2 separate regions of the Homo sapiens genome follow, and region 2 is linked to region 1. Evidence: promoter capture Hi-C in 16 types of primary human blood cells and fetal thymus (Javierre and others, 2016). All regions are on one chromosome and are shown on one strand. The core of a region is centred on a gene start or on the middle of the fragment in contact, and the rest is flanking DNA. Distances in the headings are between cores, read along the strand shown.

The links. Contacts are between HindIII fragments. The CHiCAGO score rates a contact against its expected background, and 5 or more counts as called.
Region 2: a contact is called between a fragment that was not itself captured here and the fragment with the promoter of SCN3A in region 1, in 2 of 17 cell types (total B cells and erythroblasts). The highest score is 6.9, in total B cells.

The regions. Positions count from the first base shown.
Region 1 is chr2:165,202,303-165,205,801 of GRCh38, forward strand. It overlaps SCN3A (sodium voltage-gated channel alpha subunit 3), which reads right to left and starts at 1,748. Exons shown (of 28, transcript NM_006922.4): 1 at 1,521-1,748. The HindIII fragment of the contact is 4,908 bases long and covers 816-3,499 here.
Region 2 is chr2:165,034,874-165,038,372 of GRCh38, forward strand. No RefSeq gene overlaps it. Among named protein-coding and RNA genes, the nearest start is that of SLC38A11, 81 kb to the left of the region's middle. The HindIII fragment of the contact is 162 bases long and covers 1,476-1,637 here.

The DNA.
Region 1 (3,499 bases), core at 498-2,997:
AAAAGCTAACATTTGGGGCCAAAATTAAGCATTCATTCATAAATGTAAACCAGTTCAATCAAGACCAGCTCTGATGCTTACTCAGAACAAAGTTACTCACATTTAGTCACCTGTAGAGAAGCATGGTGTGTACAATACACTCAAGTTAATTAACAGCCATTTCTGGGAACCCTGTCCAAAGAAATAGTTTTCTTTATCTCCTATGGTAGGAATTCTTCTGAAATAGACAAGACCCAGGGCTCTCCTCTCAGGCAACCACTATTTTGAAATGTTTTTGGGGGGACTATTATTGCTACTCAATGTAAAATATTAAGTGAGATGTCAATATTTTTCAACATATCATTAGGAATTACAGTTTGGAGGCCTTAAGTTCTATTTTTGAAGCCCTTTTAGCCAGTACTGACTGGAAGCCCTGTTGAAATCAGAAGTCTTCATTTCATATAGGGCACACTCTATTTGGAGTGAATGTGATGAAATGTTTCCATGCAAATTCCTACAAGCACTTATGCCTTTATCTTTGTCCTCATAAGCCACATTATACTACCTGTTGTGTATTTTAAAACCCTGTATGATTTTTAAAACTTATCTTTCAATTAATATGTATAGATTTTCTGTCAATAATTTCTTATTCTAATTATGTGGTGGCTAACTGAATGAAACATTTATGGTTATGATATAGAATATTCTAAATACAACTACAGACAATATGGATCATAGATAAAGTAAATTATTGTTTTATGGCTCCAGTGGTTCTTCCTGGTAATTAATAAAAATAAACAGTTATTAAATATATACAGAAAAACAGCAATCTATCAAGCTTATAGAACAATTAAGAATATATAATAATCTTTAAATCAATAAATTAAAAGGTAAACATTTAATATAAAATGAATATATTAAAGGATAAAGAAGTAGCATATTATGGAACATATAGAGATTATTTTATTTTTTGAAGGTTCAACCTCTTTTAAATGGTTAGTATTGGTGTTCTTTTCTCTATGAAAACAGATTTTAGAGAAAAATGATAGTGTATTTCACAAAGCCAAACACCTCTATATTGTTATCACTCCCTATATGCATGGCCTCTCTAAAGCTGTTAAATAAAAAACTAAAGCACAAGAATGATAGTTCCAATTTCACTATACATTTATGTTTAAAAAATACTGGACACACTGGGCATTTAAATAGATGACATACAGCCAGGAAACTCATTAGACTAGCTTTAAGTATAATAAAAAATATTTTTTCTGAATACAATTAATCATAAGCATCTACAAAAACACAAGACCATTGATGCCTAGTATGTACCATAAATCACCATTTCCAGACAGGCTCTATTTTCTTTGAAAGATAAAGAAATAGTAAGCAGTTTACACATCAAACGATGCCTTTGGTTCCTGTAATTTACATTTAAACAACACTGGGTTAAAAATAGCAGCATGAAGATGATTTTAAAGTAAGGAAAATGACCTGGTAGCTAGGTTCTATGGTGCAGATAATGAAATGTTTTGTCAGCTTACCTGATAAAACAGAGCCTTATGAATTACAGCATAACAAAGCCCAGCATCCAAGATGGTTAGGGTATAACGTGTCTTCCTCTGCAGCTGTTCAGCTTTTTTTTTTTTTTTTTTTTTTGACCACAGAGGTTTACAAATTAGTTACAATTTTTTTTCTTTCTTTCTCTGTGGATAAGAAAACAAAGAGACCTTTCCAGAATCCTCTCTGCTTATGCCTCCGCTTCCTGTTCTGAGATTCACTCTATGGTACCCAACATATATCAGAAAACAGCTTTGAGGAAAAAAAAAAAGAAAGAAAAAAAGGCCGATCGCACTCAAAGTGGTACCGCCATCTACTGGCGGACACACACAAAATTGAGCCAAAGAAAAAACATTCCCATTATCCTCTGTCACAGGGAGGAAAGTAAACCTGCATGAAGCATGGGTAGTCATGAAAGTGCCCCAAGATGACAGTAGAGAGGTGATGTGAGCTAAAATTTCCCAACACACTAAAAAAATGTAACTTATCTACTACATATAAATATGTATGAGACCTTTTACATATTCAGTTATTTGCATCTCACTAATTTTTTTAAAAAATTTTATCACTTTGTTGTTTTGCATGATTGTTTCACACATAAACTACTAAAATTAAAAGATATATAAATTACTGTTTGAAAAATAGGTTTTAAGTTTACATTACCCTTTACGTGTAGAGTTTTGCGAAAGCTCCCTTGTGGCCTGCTCTAGTCTTTTGAAAACCTTTTCTCTTCCTGGGATGAATTATTTTCAAGGTGAGGAATTTGACTCCTTAGAGAACAGTGTAAACACATACTCACTGATAGTATTTTTGTGTTGCTTTCTGGTAAAACATTTGCAAGAAATATCTAAATGTAGAAAAAGATTCTATACATCAGTGAACCTAGCTAATATTATTTATTAGGATATTGAAGCACACAATACATAAAGAAAATAAAAATAATCCATCAGTTATTAAGATATTTCTCAATCCAGATGTATGTTATTGTTTCATCTGACCTTTCATATCTACTTTAGAGCAAACAACTATGATTTTATTACAGTTTATCATCAATTAAATAAATACATTCATATTGACAAACCAACTGTATGGATGGACAAAAATGATGTCAAGTATTATATTAGACTTGAAAAGACACAGAGAGAAACACACAGTGCCTGCCATAAAGGAGCTCATACAAAGAAGAAAAACAAATATAGCTGATACCATATTTCCCAGCCATGTGTTCAAGAACTGTTAATTACATACTTCGTTTTCAATTGTGGCCCCCATTTTGTCTAATGGCAGAAAAATAAATCTAGTCAGTTCCAGGTAAACTAAATTACTTGAGGCTTTTCCCAATGATTTTGGGTTTGCATTCAACCAATACATGATTTTCCTCTTCTATCTCTCCTTCTCATGGAGACTGATCTAAGTTCAGGATTGTGTACATATATAGAGAAAGCAGAGTATGATCCCGTTCCCCCTTTCTCCACATGGGCATCCACTGAGGCCAGGAGTCCTGCATGATCCATGACCATCATTATCCCTCATATCTACTAACGTACCCACAGGCCCACTGGGCCCCGGGAATAGCATCCCTCCAGCTTTGCATGGCAGCATCCCCTCTTTGTCACTTCTTCCTCTAAGGAAACTTTTGTTCCTGTCCTTTAGGAGGAGAGAAGAAAAAGCAGCATGTTCCCAGGGTCACTCTTGGCTGTAATTGGCTGACTTAAGCCTTCCTCCCTGCCCCAGGCGCCTCACACAGCCATCTCTGTTCTGCTGTTTGTAAACCATGGGATGTAATGCACTCTGCAGGCTTCAGGCAAGCGAGGCACAATCTCTGCCACACTAGAATAGTGTAAATAGATGGAAACTTCTCATCTTTTCATCTTTTTAGCTAATCCTAGATTGGCAAACTATGTAAGGAGCCCTTATCAGAGACTCCTTTCCTTCTTCATAACTTCCTTCACAGACTCAAAAG
Region 2 (3,499 bases), core at 307-2,806, 170 kb before region 1:
AATTTCCTTGGGCTCTGGCCTATAGTGGTAGTCCCTAGTTGTTTGGTACCTGGCCCTAGGTGACTTAGGGCAAGGGAAGAGTGTCCAGGACTGCAGGAGCCTGATAAAAGGAAGTGGGTGGGGGTATGGACTCAGATTAGTTGGTTTGCACATCAAGGATGTACTCACAGGCAGGTTGTTTGCCATCCCTAAGAATTAGCCAAGTCTGGGAGAGGCAGTCCCTTCTCAGGTATACAAGGCTGAGGATATCAAAGCATCATCAAGTACAGAAAAATTTAAAAACATGATTAATACCCACCCTATTTAAAAACATGATTAATACCCACCCTCATGAGCTAGGAATTATTATTATTCAAACTTTCAGATGAGCATGGAGTCAGAGAAAGGCTCCATAACTTTCCCAAAATAACAGAAGTAGTAAGTGGTCAAGCTGGTATTCAAACCAGATAATATGGCTTCAAGACTCAGTTCTTAACTGTCATATTATACTTTACATATACGTAGTAAGAGACTACCAAATAAAACAAAAAACCTAGATAATTTTTAAAAAACCTAGATAATTCAAATACACATAGAATGAAACAACCAAGAGCAGAATTAATAAAGCCATGAATATAAATGTATTTAGTTTAGTGATTAAAATCTTGCTGAGAGGCGAATGGGTCATTAGATGAGAGAACTTTTCTTTTTTATTTTATAAAGATGACTTCATAGATGATTTTTTTTTTTTAGGATGAGAAGAAAGATACTTTCTAGACAATAAAGACTATTTATATTTACACCTTCTGAATACATACTACATCGTATTGTATCATAGCTTTTTTTTAACATGGATTTTCCACATTACACAGTGGTCATGTATGGCAGAGACTATTTTATTTACCTCAGTATCTCTAATGCCTGACATATAATAGGCATTCTAGGAAATTGTGTGAAATATTGAAACCCTGATGGTAGCTATGTTAGATGGATAGATAGATAACATAATGATTGATAGGCCAGCAGACAGAGAGATATGATGTGCAGTTTTTGAAGACAGTGGCCTGGCCTGGATTGCTCTGAACACTGTGTTCTAAATGCACATTTCTTCCTTATGTAATAGCTCAGAAAGAATCAGGAGTGAAATAGGCACTTAGAGAGGCTGAGACTGGCTCCTGATTGCACTTTGGTTATTCAGCAACTCAACATACTCATCAGATCATTGTTCCTATGGTCTTTATTCATTAGTTATTCAACTGGGAGCTAACAGAGTGGGCCACCTGTGCTGAGGCCAAGCTCAATGAACTTGGAAAGATGATGATGGGAGACAGTTAAATATTTAAAGGCAATAAAAGAAGTAAGCATTAGTATTGTAATAAAATGCCATTAAACTTTTTAAAAATCGAATCAGCACATTTCTGTGTAGTGTTGGTGTTCATTTTACATCCCTTGATCTGTAGGATGAGATTTGTTTCTCGTGGGAGAACACTTCACCAAGCTTACTAGAGTTAATTGCATTTAGCTATTGTAAGTTGTAAAATGAATGCACCTTGAATATTAGACTGTTCATACCACAGTCTTTTGCAGAAACTGAAAAGCAAAAGGGCTTATTCCCACAAGTTTGTTTCAATTTTAATTGCATTTTGAAGAAACCCAGAAGCTTGGAGCCAAGATTTGAAGATATTAGAATGTAGGTCATTATACTAGTGCACAAATTTTATCTCTAGGACTATACAACAGTGACTTACAAAAAAAATGATTTAAATGAATTTTTATTGTTTGGCATGTCAGCAAAAATATTTCAGAGAATTACTATGCTAGGTAAGAAGATGGATTAGTCTTATTCATCACATTCTGTGGATTATTTCTTTTTGGTGCCTACTTGTGTGCAGATGGTTTAAAAAGCATGATTCATTAATAATTGCTAGAGCTATTAATTGAAAATGTAGATTTTGAACTCATTTCCTTCCTATTACCCTGTGGAAGGCTAACATTTCCAGTTTCTGGCTTTATATCAAGTCAACCCAATTTGACTGACTACCATTTTTTAAAAATATAAATATCTATGGAGTAAAAAGGGAAAAAAATCAAAGTTTCTTTTTCTCTGATCTATATTAAATCAAACTGAACATGGCCTATTTTTAATTACTTATTTGTTTTTAATATTTTTTTTCTTTTTCTTATGTAGTCTCATGTGAGTGTCACAGCAAAGACAGAGGGTGTGAATTTTGCAGAGTTCCCTGTTTACTGGTCAACATTTTTAGCATGTAGCTAAAAATAATAATTTTGCAAGGTTATTTATTACTTGTTTACATTATTTGAACTTTTATATTTCTTTTTTGAGAGAACTTCAGTAAGCAGGGCACAATATATTGCTAAATACATTTTTTAAAGGATTTTCAAAAACCTTTCTATTGTATAAGAGTAATTTAATATAAAAATAATTTTTTCATTATAGATTTCTTCTTTTTTATTTCAGTAGGTTTTAGGGGAACAGGTGGTGTTTGGTTACATGCATAAGTTCTTTAACAGTGATTTCCGAGATTTTGACGCACCCATCACTCGAGCAGTGTACCCTATACCCAGTATGTAGTCTTTTATACTTTACCCCACCCTTCCCCGCCAAGTTCCCAGAGTCCATTGTATAATTCTTATGACTTTACCTCCTCATAGCATCCAGGTTGCTGCAAATGCCATTGTTTCCTTCCTTTTAATGGCTGAGTAGTATTCCATGGGTATATAAATCACATTTCCTTTATCCACTCATTGATTGATGGGAATTTGGTCTGGTTCCATATTTTTGCAATTGTGAATTGTGCTGCTATAAACATACATGTGCAAGTGTCTTTTTCATATAATGACGTCTTTTCCTCTGGGTAGATACCTAGTAGTGGGATCACTGGATCAAAAGGTAGTTCTACTTTTAATTTTTTAAGGAATCTTCAGACAGTTTACCATAGTGGTTGTACTAGTTTACATTCCCACCAACATTGTAAAAATGTACGTTTTTCACCAGATCTATGCCAACATCTATTTTTTTTTTTTATCATGGTCATTCTTTTAGGAGTAACGTGGTATCTCATTGTGGTTTTGATTTGCATTTTCCTGATAATTAGTGATATTGAGCATTTTTATATGTTTGTTGGCCATTTATATATCTTCTTTTGAGAACTGTCCATTCATGTTCTTAGCTCAGTTTTTGATGGGATTATTTGCTTTTTTCTTGCTGATCTGTTTGAGTTCCTTATAGATTCTGGATATTTGTCCTTTGTCAGATGCATAGTTTGTGAATATTTTCTCCCACTCTGTGGGTTGTCTGTTTACTCTGCTGATAATTTATTTTGCTGTGCGGAAGCTTTTTAGTTTAATTAAGTCTCATCTGTTTATCTTTGTTTTTGTCGCATTTACTTTTGGGTTCTTGGTCATGAAGTTTTTGCCTAAGGCAATGTCTAGAAAGGTTTTTTCCAATGTTATCTTCTAGAATTTTTGTGGCTTCAGGGCTTAAATTTAAGTATTTGCT